Linked DNA regions of Homo sapiens: all the other regions are linked to region 3. The links are contacts of gene promoters, found by promoter capture Hi-C in blood cells and fetal thymus (Javierre and others, 2016). All regions are on one chromosome and are shown on one strand. The core of a region is centred on a gene start or on the middle of the fragment in contact, and the rest is flanking DNA. Distances in the headings are between cores, read along the strand shown. Region 1 holds the start of ZFAND2B (zinc finger AN1-type containing 2B). Region 2 overlaps STK16 (serine/threonine kinase 16). Region 3 holds the start of CTDSP1 (CTD small phosphatase 1).

Evidence for each region. The method cuts DNA at HindIII sites, captures the fragments that hold promoters and counts their contacts. A CHiCAGO score of 5 or more calls a contact.
Region 1: a contact is called between a fragment that was not itself captured here and the fragment with the promoter of CTDSP1 in region 3, in 1 of 17 cell types (non-activated CD4 T cells). The highest score is 5.3, in non-activated CD4 T cells.
Region 2: a contact is called between a fragment that was not itself captured here and the fragment with the promoter of CTDSP1 in region 3, in 6 of 17 cell types (non-activated CD4 T cells, activated CD4 T cells, naive CD8 T cells and 3 more). The highest score is 9.0, in non-activated CD4 T cells.

The regions. Positions count from the first base shown.
Region 1 is chr2:219,206,230-219,210,148 of GRCh38, forward strand. ZFAND2B (zinc finger AN1-type containing 2B) reads left to right here and starts at 553. Exons shown (of 9, transcript NM_138802.3): 1 at 553-813; 2 at 1,098-1,192; 3 at 1,419-1,550; 4 at 1,658-1,809; 5 at 2,027-2,119; 6 at 2,197-2,257; 7 at 2,343-2,410; 8 at 2,748-2,820; 9 at 3,033-3,419. The coding sequence starts at 759. The coding sequence ends at 3,077. It overlaps ABCB6 (ATP binding cassette subfamily B member 6 (LAN blood group)), which reads right to left. Exons shown (of 19, transcript NM_005689.4): 19 at 3,543-3,817. The coding sequence ends at 3,709. RefSeq lists enhancers at 145-394, 1,512-2,011 and a silencer at 445-844. The HindIII fragment of the contact is 8,332 bases long and covers 1-3,919 here.
Region 2 is chr2:219,249,443-219,253,292 of GRCh38, forward strand. It overlaps STK16 (serine/threonine kinase 16), which reads left to right. Exons shown (of 8, transcript NM_001330213.2): 8 at 1-895. It overlaps TUBA4A (tubulin alpha 4a), which reads right to left. Exons shown (of 4, transcript NM_006000.3): 2 at 2,566-2,788; 3 at 2,123-2,271; 4 at 268-1,881. The coding sequence ends at 910. TUBA4B (tubulin alpha 4b) reads left to right here and starts at 3,801. Exons shown (of 4, transcript NM_001355221.1): 1 at 3,801-3,850. RefSeq lists enhancers at 541-630, 671-790. The HindIII fragment of the contact is 2,112 bases long and covers 403-2,514 here.
Region 3 is chr2:218,398,385-218,402,051 of GRCh38, forward strand. CTDSP1 (CTD small phosphatase 1) reads left to right here and starts at 1,484. Exons shown (of 7, transcript NM_021198.3): 1 at 1,484-1,773; 2 at 3,180-3,328. The coding sequence starts at 1,707. RefSeq lists silencers at 132-401, 1,092-1,461, 1,532-1,611, 1,772-1,931. The HindIII fragment of the contact is 4,794 bases long and covers 1-3,516 here.

The DNA of each region.
Region 1 (3,919 bases), core at 1,322-3,821, 810 kb after region 3:
GGACCACACTGTTCTAGGCACTGTTAGGTGCTGGGACCTAACACGAAACAAGGTAGACGTGGTTCCTGATTTCCCAGTATGCTCATATAGGGGTTGGTCGCATTAGTGATATGGGTGCTAGAATGGAAGAAGTAAGATCACATAGCAGGTGCGCCTAGTTCAGACTGAGGAGGGATCTGCAGCTCTAGAGACGTCTGTACTTCAGAGAAATACAGGAGCTGTCAGCTCGTGGAGGCGAAGGGCAGCCGTGGCCGTGAACAAAATGGCCAGGAGGAGGGCATCGTGTGTGAAGCGGGCTAAGGACCGAATTGTGAAAGACCCCAAACCACCCAGCCTTCCATCCCCCAAGATATCCGTCTTTGCCTTCGCTGGCCTTCCTCTGCGGAGCTACGCCCGCGCCCAGGGTGGCGGAGCCGCGCATCAACACCCTCTCGCCTCGGGACAGTCTTCCGACTCAGCCTTCTAGAGCAAGGCGAGGCGGGGCGGGGCTCAACCGAGGCCCTCCCCGGCTGCCCGGAGACTGCGCCGGACGCGCCAGCCCTGCGGGATGACGTCAGCGCGCCGCGCGCGCCGAGGGAGGAGCGGGCGCCGGGGGCCGGCTGGCGCGGGGGCTCCGGTAACCCGGGCTGGGCGGGGGAGAGGAAGGGGCGGGGCAGGGAGCCCGCCAGAGTGCGGGGTCGCGGTGCGGACTTCGAGCACGAGCCCTAAAGACGCTCAGCACTCGTCGCTTCTCCTAGCAGACCCTGCCCGGCTTGGCGATGGAGTTTCCGGACCTCGGCGCTCACTGTTCGGAGCCGAGCTGTCAGCGCTTGGGTGAGGGGCGGAGCGCGCGGGGGGCGGGGCCCAGCGGACAGGGACTTTGAACCGCAGGTTGGGAGGGAAGGGTGGGCTCCCAGGCTGGCAATGCCGGGGGGCGGGGCTTGAAGCTGGGGGGGGGTGGTCAGCGGCAGAGGGGGCGTGGCCAAGGAGGTAATGGGCTTGGGAAGGGGCGGTGTGTCGAAAATAGGGTGGCGTTTTCCTTCCCGAGTGGAAGACTTGAGTGAGAGAGAAGGACATCGAGGTCCCGCTGGACCTGCAATCCGACCAACTCTTTGCAGATTTTCTGCCGCTTAAGTGTGATGCCTGCTCAGGCATCTTCTGCGCAGACCATGTGGCCTACGCCCAGCATCACTGTGGATCTGCTTACCAAAAGGTGAGGGGGCGATCCTCAGGGTGAAAGCAGGCAGATGGAGAATGCGTGCAGAATCCCCCAAATCTGTGTCTCACGTTTCTTCTCCCTTTTGTCCTTCTGAGGCTGTCAGTGCTGGGAAACACTGTTTTTTTGCGTGTTTGTGGTGGGTCATATCCAAGTTCTTTCAGGACCAGAGATTTGTTGGACTGGAGTGGGCCACAGACTGACCCTTGCTCCTTGACTACAGGATATCCAGGTACCTGTGTGCCCTCTCTGTAATGTGCCTGTGCCTGTGGCCAGAGGGGAGCCCCCTGACCGTGCTGTGGGAGAGCACATTGACAGAGACTGTCGCTCTGATCCAGCACAGCAAAAACGTAAGGTAAACATTGTAGGGGTCAGCCACAACCCAGCTGGGACTACGGATGCCTGGAAACCCAAACAGCTAATCAGAGTCTCAGCAGAGACAACCTTCTCACTTCACCTCAGATCTTCACCAATAAGTGTGAACGCGCTGGCTGCCGGCAGCGAGAAATGATGAAACTGACCTGTGAACGCTGTAGCCGAAACTTCTGCATCAAGCACCGGCATCCACTGGACCATGATTGCTCTGGGGAGGGGCACCCAACCAGCCGGGCAGGGTAATGGCAGCCAAGTCCTCCACTTGCTTTTGGGAAGCATTCTTTTGGAACTGACTCAAGCTCTGTTGTTATAAATTGGGGAGCTTCAACCCTACCCTGTCGGCTAGGGGAGTCTTTTAGCTTCCTTTTCAAGTGCATGTTTTTCCAGAACTCCCCTCCTGACTTCCTGGGTAAGGCTAGTTCTTGGAGACATGCCAAAAATCTCTCTTCCCTACAGACTTGCTGCCATCTCCAGAGCACAAGCTGTGGCTTCTACAAGCACTGTCCCCAGCCCAAGTCAAACCATGCCTTCCTGTACCTCTCCCAGCAGGTAGGCCTGCCCGTTTCCCTGCTCCCCCTTTTTCCCCTTCACACCTCTGACCTCCACCTCTTCAATGTCTGTCGTAGAGCCACAACCCGATCTCCGTCCTGGACAGCCCCTCCAGTGATTGCTTTGCAGAATGGCCTGGTGAGTTGGGCAGAGGTTGGATGGACAGAAACAAACACACAGAGAGTGAAGTCCAAGGACGCTGGTCTTCTTTCTCCCTTTGTAGAGTGAGGATGAAGCTCTGCAGCGGGCCCTGGAAATGTCCCTGGCAGAAACCAAACCCCAGGTTCCAAGGTACCTTACCCTCTTGTGAAAGAGAGCGCAAGCTGTGGGCAAGGGCTTGGTCTGGAGGCAGGTAGGTGGGACCACTCTGACACAATGCAAGATAATCGCTGGCAACTTGGTCTCAAAATTAAGATGAACTATATGATCTTTGACAAGTTATTTAACCCATGGAGCCTTCATTTCCTCTATAAAACGGGGACAATACTAATACCCACCTTGTAGTGTTGCTATGAAGATTGAGATAATCCTCAGCAGTGCTCAGCACCATGAGGCCCAACACACACAGATCAGATGTTCAAATTTCAGATCTTACCATCATCCAACTTAAACTGTTTCTCCCTCCCAGTTGTCAGGAGGAAGAAGACCTAGCTTTAGCACAAGCACTGTCAGCCAGTGAGGCAGAATACCAGCGGCAGCAGGTATGAGGCTGGGCTGAAGATATATGCTGCAGTGGAAGGGAGGAAGAAGTCAGGGATGGGGGTTCTTCCTAGTGGTGCAGAGTTTTGGAATGGTGGTTATCGTCTGGTTTTCAGTATGACTCCAGCCCATGCTGAGCTCTGAAATGAGGGCTGTCCCTCATTTCCTTGACGTTGCACTGTGTCTTCCCCTCCTTCCCCTCTCTTTGCTCTAGGCCCAGAGCCGCAGCTCGAAGCCGTCCAACTGCAGCCTGTGCTAGGGCCCTGGGCTTGGGGAGGGAGGTTCACCTGAGGAGGACTGTGGCCCTCACACCTCTAGGGTACACAGGGAGAGGAGGCCCGGAGCACCCTGGAGGGCAGAGACAAGCGGGAGTGATGTGGAGGTCGCCCTGGGAGCCTCTGGAAGGCCTTGCTAGTGCTCCAGCTGCATGGAAGAGAGCGGCTAGCAACTGTTCCCTGGTTGGGCCCTCAGTGGATGCTGGCCAGGCCCTACTCTTAGCCCCTTCATCATGTCATCTCCCTTATGCTGGAGCTGCCCCGATGTGGAGTGGGCAGGAAGGGGCCTGGAAAAAATAAAGGATCTTGGCAGTTGATAAAACGTACAAGTGGTGTGTTTCTCTCTCCTCTCTAACCTCAAACAGGAAAGCCGTGTCAAGAATGCTCATCTGACTTATGGGTAGAGGCCCGCTGCAGTACCCCATCCCACAAAGCCACAGTGATCCTCGCACAGTCCACATTTTTATTTCCCCAAAAGATGTTTTTCGGAAAGGTCCCTTTCCCTTACCATAGCTAGCACCATACCCCAAGACCAGGATGAAATAAGCCAGGGAAAGGAGACACATCTTATTCCCTTCTGGGTTAGTCTTTGAGAGGGAAGTGGCCAAACTTTTGTCACCGTTCCATGGTCTGAGGCTTAGTGTCTTCAGAGGTTTCTTCCTGTCCCTGCTGCAGCTGCCACATGTCAGCATACACCCCACCTCGGGACAACAGAGCCTCGTGTCTGGGGTGAGGAGAAAAGTGTGAGTCCTAACCATTAGTTTTACCCCGAGGGTCCTTGCCACCAGCCCACAGAGAGGACGGGATGGGAAGGGAGGTCCCCTCC
Region 2 (3,850 bases), core at 209-2,708, 850 kb after region 3:
CCCTGTCTTAGCTGGGCTTCAAACCTGTTCCCTAGGGAAGGGCTCTGTTCCCTGAATCACCAGGGAGGAAAGGCAAGGGCAGGGTTGGCATCTCCTGCTCTTTTGTGATCCAAGCCTCCTCCCCCGAACCATGTCTACCCCACAGTATGACATCAGCATGGGGCCTGGGGCTCCTGTTAGCAAAGTTGAAGCTTTCCCCAGGGCCCTAGCAGGAGTCTCCCACTAGCTAGCACAGAGGCTGAGGCCAGAAAGAAATCACAAACAGAGGGGAGATGACCTGACTTTTAATGGCACAGCCCCAGCTCCAGCAAAGCAGCAAGACAGGAAGCTATGCAAAGCTGCTCAGAGGTGCAGTGGCACAAACAACTCTAGGAGATCGCCTGTGTTCCCTCCCATCCCCCAAGCTTATGACGTGGCTCCATGCCCAGGAACTCTGGGCCAGCCCAGCCCCACTCCCAAACCCTCATAATGCACAGAGGAGCCTGGGCCAAGCCTTGCTTCCAGAGTTGGTAAATGTAGAGGCAGCAGGAAGAACAGGGTAGCAGTCTAACTTTCAAAGACAGAAACCACTGGATTATACTCCTACTTGGAAAGGAGCTGAAGACTCATCCTTCAACAGTTTGTGCCTGGATTTTGGTCCTCATTTCCTCCCTATACTGAGTAACCCTAGGACTTCAATTTAAAGTCCCTGGGGTTATGCTTCCTGGGCCTGGCAAGAACCCCTTTGCAGGTCTCACCTTCAGCGATGGAAGGGATAAGGGTCATGAACAGCAAACAGAGCAGCAGCAGCATGAAGGGGAAGGCAGCAGAAGCTCAAGCACTCAGAGGGAACAAGAAACCGTGCAAGGAAACTGTTTATTTCGAAAGGATTTTGCAATAAACATAGTGAATAGGCTCCAGGCAGCTGCTTTATTCTTCTCCCTCATCCTCGTCCTCATAGGAGTCGATGCCCACCTCCTCATAATCCTTCTCCAGGGCAGCCATATCCTCACGGGCCTCGGAGAACTCACCCTCCTCCATGCCCTCACCCACATACCAGTGCACAAACGCCCTCTTGGCATACATCAGGTCGAACTTGTGGTCCAGGCGGGCCCAGGCCTCGGCGATGGCGGTCGTGTTGCTCAGCATGCACACGGCACGCTGCACCTTGGCCAGGTCACCCCCAGGCACCACAGTGGGAGGCTGGTAGTTGATACCAACCTTGAAGCCTGTGGGGCACCAGTCCACAAACTGAATGCTGCGCTTGGTCTTGATGGCGGCAATGGCAGCGTTGACATCCTTGGGCACCACATCTCCACGGTACAGCAGGCAGCAGGCCATGTACTTGCCGTGCCGGGGATCACACTTTACCATCTGGTTGGCAGGCTCAAAGCAGGCATTGGTGATCTCTGCCACCGACAGCTGCTCGTGGTATGCCTTTTCTGCAGAGATGACTGGTGCATAGGTGGCCAGGGGGAAGTGGATGCGAGGGTAGGGCACCAGGTTGGTCTGGAACTCTGTCAGGTCCACATTGAGGGCCCCGTCAAAGCGCAGAGAAGCTGTGATGGAGGAGACAATTTGGCTAATGAGGCGATTGAGGTTGGTGTAGGTTGGGCGCTCGATGTCTAGGTTGCGGCGGCAGATGTCATAGATTGCTTCGTTGTCCACCATGAAGGCACAGTCTGAGTGCTCCAGGGTGGTGTGGGTGGTCAGGATAGAGTTGTAGGGCTCGACCACGGCTGTAGACACCTGGGGGGCTGGGTAGATGGAGAATTCCAGCTTGGATTTCTTGCCATAGTCAACAGAGAGCCGCTCCATCAGGAGTGAGGTGAAGCCAGAGCCAGTGCCCCCACCAAAGCTGTGGAACACCAGGAAGCCCTGAAGTCCTGTGCACTGGTCAGACTGAAAGGCAAGAACGAGAAAGAACAGTTTAGGTAGGGGAGGGGCCTGAGGGACTCTATCACCTGGCTCCATAAAGCGTAAGATACATCAGCAGTCAGGGCAAATACTGAGGATGCCATAGCAGCACCACACTCGAGACCATGTATAGTTAGAGATGACCTCCTGAAAGGATCTGAAAAAAAATATTCCTGACCATTAGCACAGTCTCAAAAGTTCCCTCCCTCCCAAGACACACTCTCACCAGCTTGCGGATCCGATCCAGCACTGGGTCAATGATCTCCTTGCCAATGGTATAGTGACCACGGGCATAGTTGTTGGCAGCATCCTCTTTCCCAGTGATGAGCTGCTCTGGGTGGAAGAGCTGTCGGTATGGGCCATTTCGGATCTCATCTGGAAGGGCAAAAACCACAAAGCTATGCTCAGCAGGGACCTTCCTCCCCCAGGGTGGTAGCTGTGGCCAGATGCATGGAAGGACTCATCCTCCTGCCAGCCTGAGATACCAGAGTGTGAGAGAAACCCAGACCAGCTGCCCAGGCCAGTCTCAGATCAGCTTGCCTTCTGCAGCTTCAAGTACGGCTAGGAATTTTCAGGGCTAGGAATGCCTGGTCTAAATACCCTCTCTCTCCAGGGAGAAGCTTTGAGTCATGCTCCACCCCCTTCAATTTTGTCCCCACTTCCTCTCACCAATGACCGTAGGCTCCAGATCCACAAAAACTGCCCGGGGTACGTGTTTTCCAGCACCAGTTTCACAGAAGAAGGTGGTGAAGGAGTCGTCCCCTCCACCAATGGTCTTGTCACTGGGCATCTGCCCATCAGGCTGAATCCCATGTTCCAAGCAATAGAGCTCCCAGCAGGCATTGCCCATCTGGACACCTGCCTGCCCCACGTGGACTGAGATGCATTCACGCTGAGGGATAGAGAGAGGGGACACAGCATGAGCCCCACATCCACAAGTCCTCACCTTGCGAGTCTCTCTTCCACCCTATCATCTACCAGCTAGGATGACTCAGTTGGCAAGAGTGGAGGGTTGGGGCTGGGCAGAGGTGAGAAGAGAGTAGCAGCCTGCCCGGGCTCCCAGGTACAGGACTCCCCACCTGGAGGCACCCAGCAATGCAGGCCAACCTCTTAGCCCACTTCTCAGTGGGGAATCTGTCAAGTGAGCACTGTGGCTCCACATGACAAAAGGTTTCCTAGAGGTATGGGTTTACAGCTAGAGGCCCCCCCCCCACTTGATTAATTATTTGCTTTGAGTATGAACAGCTAGAATTCATAGAACCCTTTCCCTCTTTCTTTCCTGTAAGCTGCAGAGGTGTCTCAGCCATCCAATCTGGCATCAACTGACCACACGCCATCAGGATGCCCTCCTCCCTCACCTTTAAATCCCATCTGGCTCTGGGGATCAATCCCATCTGGCTCCTCTCCCCACCTCCACCCCCGCACCCTGGGTGTCTTCACCACTTTCATCTCCCGTGTCAGCCCGCACGGAAATAGCGGCGGTAATGCTTGTAAGCTCAGACAGCAGGGGCCAGCAATAAGGTTTGAGGGTACTGGGGCGCTCACTGCCTTAGGCTCCGTCCCTGTCAGCCCGAAATTAACCCCTAAAGCACTAAAGTCCGGCAGGGCCCGCGCGCTCTTCCCACACCGAAATGGCGGGGTGACGGTTTCCAAATACCCAGAAAGGAAGTGGAACCTGCGGTGAGGCCCCAGAGGTGACCCGCCTTGTCCCGGGCAGGATGGGCGCCATCCTGCAGCCCAGCCCTACATCCGCTCTCCCTCTGGAGTCTTTACAGTTATTTCCCAGCCCAAAGCGGGGATTGGGTTTCGGCCCCCGCTCCTGGGCTATAAATACCACCCCCTACATGCACCTCTCTCCCCTCCCCCCAACCTGGCCTCGGCCCGCGCAGTGCTCAGCGCCAGCTGTCTCTGCCCATCCGCGCACCCGGGCTTCGGCTGGAGAGGGCCAGCTCGC
Region 3 (3,667 bases), core at 234-2,733:
CGTGTGGCGATCACGGTGATGAAGCGCAATGGTGGCCGCCCCGTGGGCTACCCAGGAGCAGGAGGAGGGCCGAGGGATCCAGCCCGGGGACCGGGGTATCAGTCCCCGACAGTCCCCTCCCGCCCCTACTCCCAGCCTCAGCGCACGAAGCCGCCGCGCCTTCTGGCAGACGCCGCTCCCCTCCCTTCCCCTCCCGGCCCCCGCGCGGGGCCTCCCCTCCCCGGCTCCCCCTCGGCAGGGCCTGGCGGACGTGCGCCGCGTCGCACCCGGCGGCCGGACGGGACAGGACGCGCCCGCCCCGCCCCGCCACGGAGGCCCGCGGGAGAGGGGGAGGGGAGGAAGTGCCGAGGGGTGTTTGTCGGGCTTGGCATTATTAATTTTTAAATGGTGAACTTACAAAATAGTAACGACGAGTGAAAAGAACTTCATAAACGAGGAAAAAGACCAACCCGCAGACCCACGGCGCGCACCACGGAGGGGCTTGCAGCGAGAAGACAGGGACCTCCGTTCCCAAGTGCCCAGCACTGCGCCACAGGCCGGGTGGAACGGGCCTTGAGGGCCTCTGGTTTGAGGTCCCCCACGGTCGGGCTTTGGGCCCACCGCGTGCGGCGCCGTGCTGGGCTCCTAGGATCGGCAGCGAGTCCAGTGACTCCCACCGCACCCCCAGTAATCACAGGGCGGCCGTCGACCGCGGGCAGGGGAGGGGGTCTGGGAAGGCCCCTGGAGAAGGTGGCATTTCCTCGAGGTCGGTGGAATTTGGCTACGCGAAAGGAACAGCGCGTACGAAAACTTCAGGCGGGAACGCGCGGTGGCCCGTGCGCGGCGGGTAGACGTGCGGGGCCCCGGGTGGGGCCGTGGGGAGAGGTCGGCAGGGGGCTTTCCCAGGGCAGAGAGTTAGAATTTCACGTCCTACAGACCGGGGGCACCTCGCCCTGGGGCTGCGGGGGGCGGCGACCGTCCCATTCAAGAGCGTGATTCTGAGGTTTGCACAGCTGTTTCGGGCCAGCAGAGCCTTCGCTGGCTCTTGACGTCCTTGCGAGGTGATCTCTGCGACCACCAGACAGGAGAGAAGACCCATTTTACAGATGAGGTAGTGCTATCTCCAAGTCCTCAACGAGGAAACCGAGAAGCCTCTAGTCCCGGGTCTTCAGAAAACGCAGAGGTGGAGCCGCGCCGCACTCGGGCACTCCCCGGCGTGGGCGCTCCCGGCGGGCGGGCCTTGGCCGAGGGCGCTCGGCGGCCTGGAACGGTGAGCCGGGTGCCGGGCCTGCCACGCAGCCGCAGAGACTCAGCCCCGCCGGCGGGCGGCAGGAAGGGAGGCGACGCCCCCTGGAGCGCGGCAGGAACCCGGCCCGGCCCGCCTCCCAGTCCGCCTAGCCGCGCCGGTCCCAGAAGTGGCGAAAGCCGCAGCCGAGTCCAGGTCACGCCGAAGCCGTTGCCCTTTTAAGGGGGAGCCTTGAAACGGCGCCTGGGTTCCATGTTTGCATCCGCCTCGCGGGAAGGAAACTCCATGTTGTAACAAAGTTTCCTCCGCGCCCCCTCCCTCCCCCTCCCCCCTAGAACCTGGCTCCCCTCCCCTCCGGAGCTCGCGGGGATCCCTCCCTCCCACCCCTCCCCTCCCCCCCGCGCCCCGATTCCGGCCCCAGCCGGGGGGGAGGCCGGGCGCCCGGGCCAGAGTCCGGCCGGAGCGGAGCGCGCCCGGCCCCATGGACAGCTCGGCCGTCATTACTCAGATCAGCAAGGAGGAGGCTCGGGGCCCGCTGCGGGGCAAAGGTACCGGGGCTGCGGGGAGGGGGCCGAAGCCGGGGCGCCGTGGGAGGAGAGAAGGGGCCGGGATCTTCCCCAGGGGAGCCGCCGCCGCCGCCCCGGGCGGCCGCCTTAGCTGTGCCCGAAGCTCCCAGCCCGAGAGGGAGCAGGGAGAGAGTTTGAACTCAGAGGAGGCTCAGAGACGCGGGGCGGGGCCTGGCGCCTTTGGGGCGCTCCTGTTCGCTCGAGGTGAGGAAACTGAGGCAGGAATAGAGAGGGAACTCTTCGGGGGTTTCCTGGCAGGCATTGCGTGGTGCATGGGCGCCCCCCCACCATTGGCGCCAATGGGGCTGGGAGATGGGGGAGCTGAGGAGGGCGCCTATGGGCCACCCGCTGAGACTCCGCCCCACCCCCCACCCCCACCCCCCCGGGCTGCGGTCCGGTAGGGTCTTGGGAGGGGGCGCCGAGGTGACAGCAGGCTGGGGAGGCTTGGAGGGATCTCCCGCCAACACACAGCTACGTTCCCCACAAACTTCGCGTCACGCGTGGAGGCGCCGACCCCCTCGGAGGCACAGAGAGGACGGCCGGCACTTCCAAGAGTCGCTTGGCGCCCGCGGGGAGAGTCGTGCGCCTAGTGGGCACGCACCACCCCGCAAAGCCTCGCCGCCCCGACGAGGCTGCGTCCCCCAGCGTGGCTGGGCCGGGGTGGGGGGGTCTGTCTTCTCCTTTTCCCCGTGTGGACCTCAGGATCTGGACGCTGCCCCCAGGTCTGCCCACCCTCGCCTGGGTCTGGCTGCCCCGGAACTGAGGGCAAGGTGGAAAGGCTAGTTGCAGGGGGCCGGAGGGGGGTGGGGTGGGAGGGGTATCTGTCAATCAGGCTGCTGGGCTCCAGGTCGGAGGTCTGGGCGGGGCAGGGCAAACAGATGGCCACTGGACACTGGCCCCAGGCCGCGGGACTGCACCCCTGCCTCTGGGCCCAGCCGCAGTGAGGACTTCGTACCCACGGGGGTGGAGAGGATGGAGGGAGGGCAGGGGTGGACTGCCCTGGGTCCCAGGCCCTGGCTGTCCTGAGCAGGGGTGCTCAGGTAAGGTGGGGTCAGGAGGCACCGCAATGGGGCTGATCAGCAGCAGTCATGGAGGCTGTGAGAGGCAGGGAGAGAGCACCCCAGGACCTCCTTCTCCAGGCCACGCACTCCCTATGTGGGCGCCTTAATACCTGCTAGACCTATTTGTCTGGGAGCTGCAGGAGCCTTGCAGTTGATTGTGGAGCCCTGACAGGGGCGTTTCAGAGAAAGTCAGGAGCTGCCTTCGTGTGTCTGGATGAAGGGGCCACGGCAAGATCCTCCTGGCTCAGGGGTTCACACCTGGGCACACATGCAGGATTCTGCAGGCCAGTGTGCACCGAGCCTCCAACTTGTGCCTCCCTACTTCAGGTGACCAGAAGTCAGCAGCTTCCCAGAAGCCCCGAAGCCGGGGCATCCTCCACTCACTCTTCTGCTGTGTCTGCCGGGATGATGGGGAGGCCCTGCCTGCTCACAGCGGGGCGCCCCTGCTTGTGGAGGAGAATGGCGCCATCCCTAAGGTGCGTGGGGGCCAGGTGGGGCCACGGGGGCACCTGGACTCAGTCTTCAGGGCTTTAGGGGAAGGGGCTCCTGACTGAGCTTTTCAGGATGGACTTGCAGACCTGAAAGGTGCAGAGTAGGAGGGTGGCAGCCTCCCCTGCCAGGCCCTGCCCACTGTGGGGAAACTGAATTCTCCCTCATAAGTGGAAGCTTTTTCCTACCTTGGTTTTTAGAGAGGTCTCAAAGAGCCAAGAGGCCTACCCAAGCCCTAGAGCTGGCAGGGGCAAAGCTGGGAAGGGGGAAGTATCTGTTCCTGGGGCCTGGGGTTCCTCTGGAGACGGCTAGGGGGAGAAGCCTGC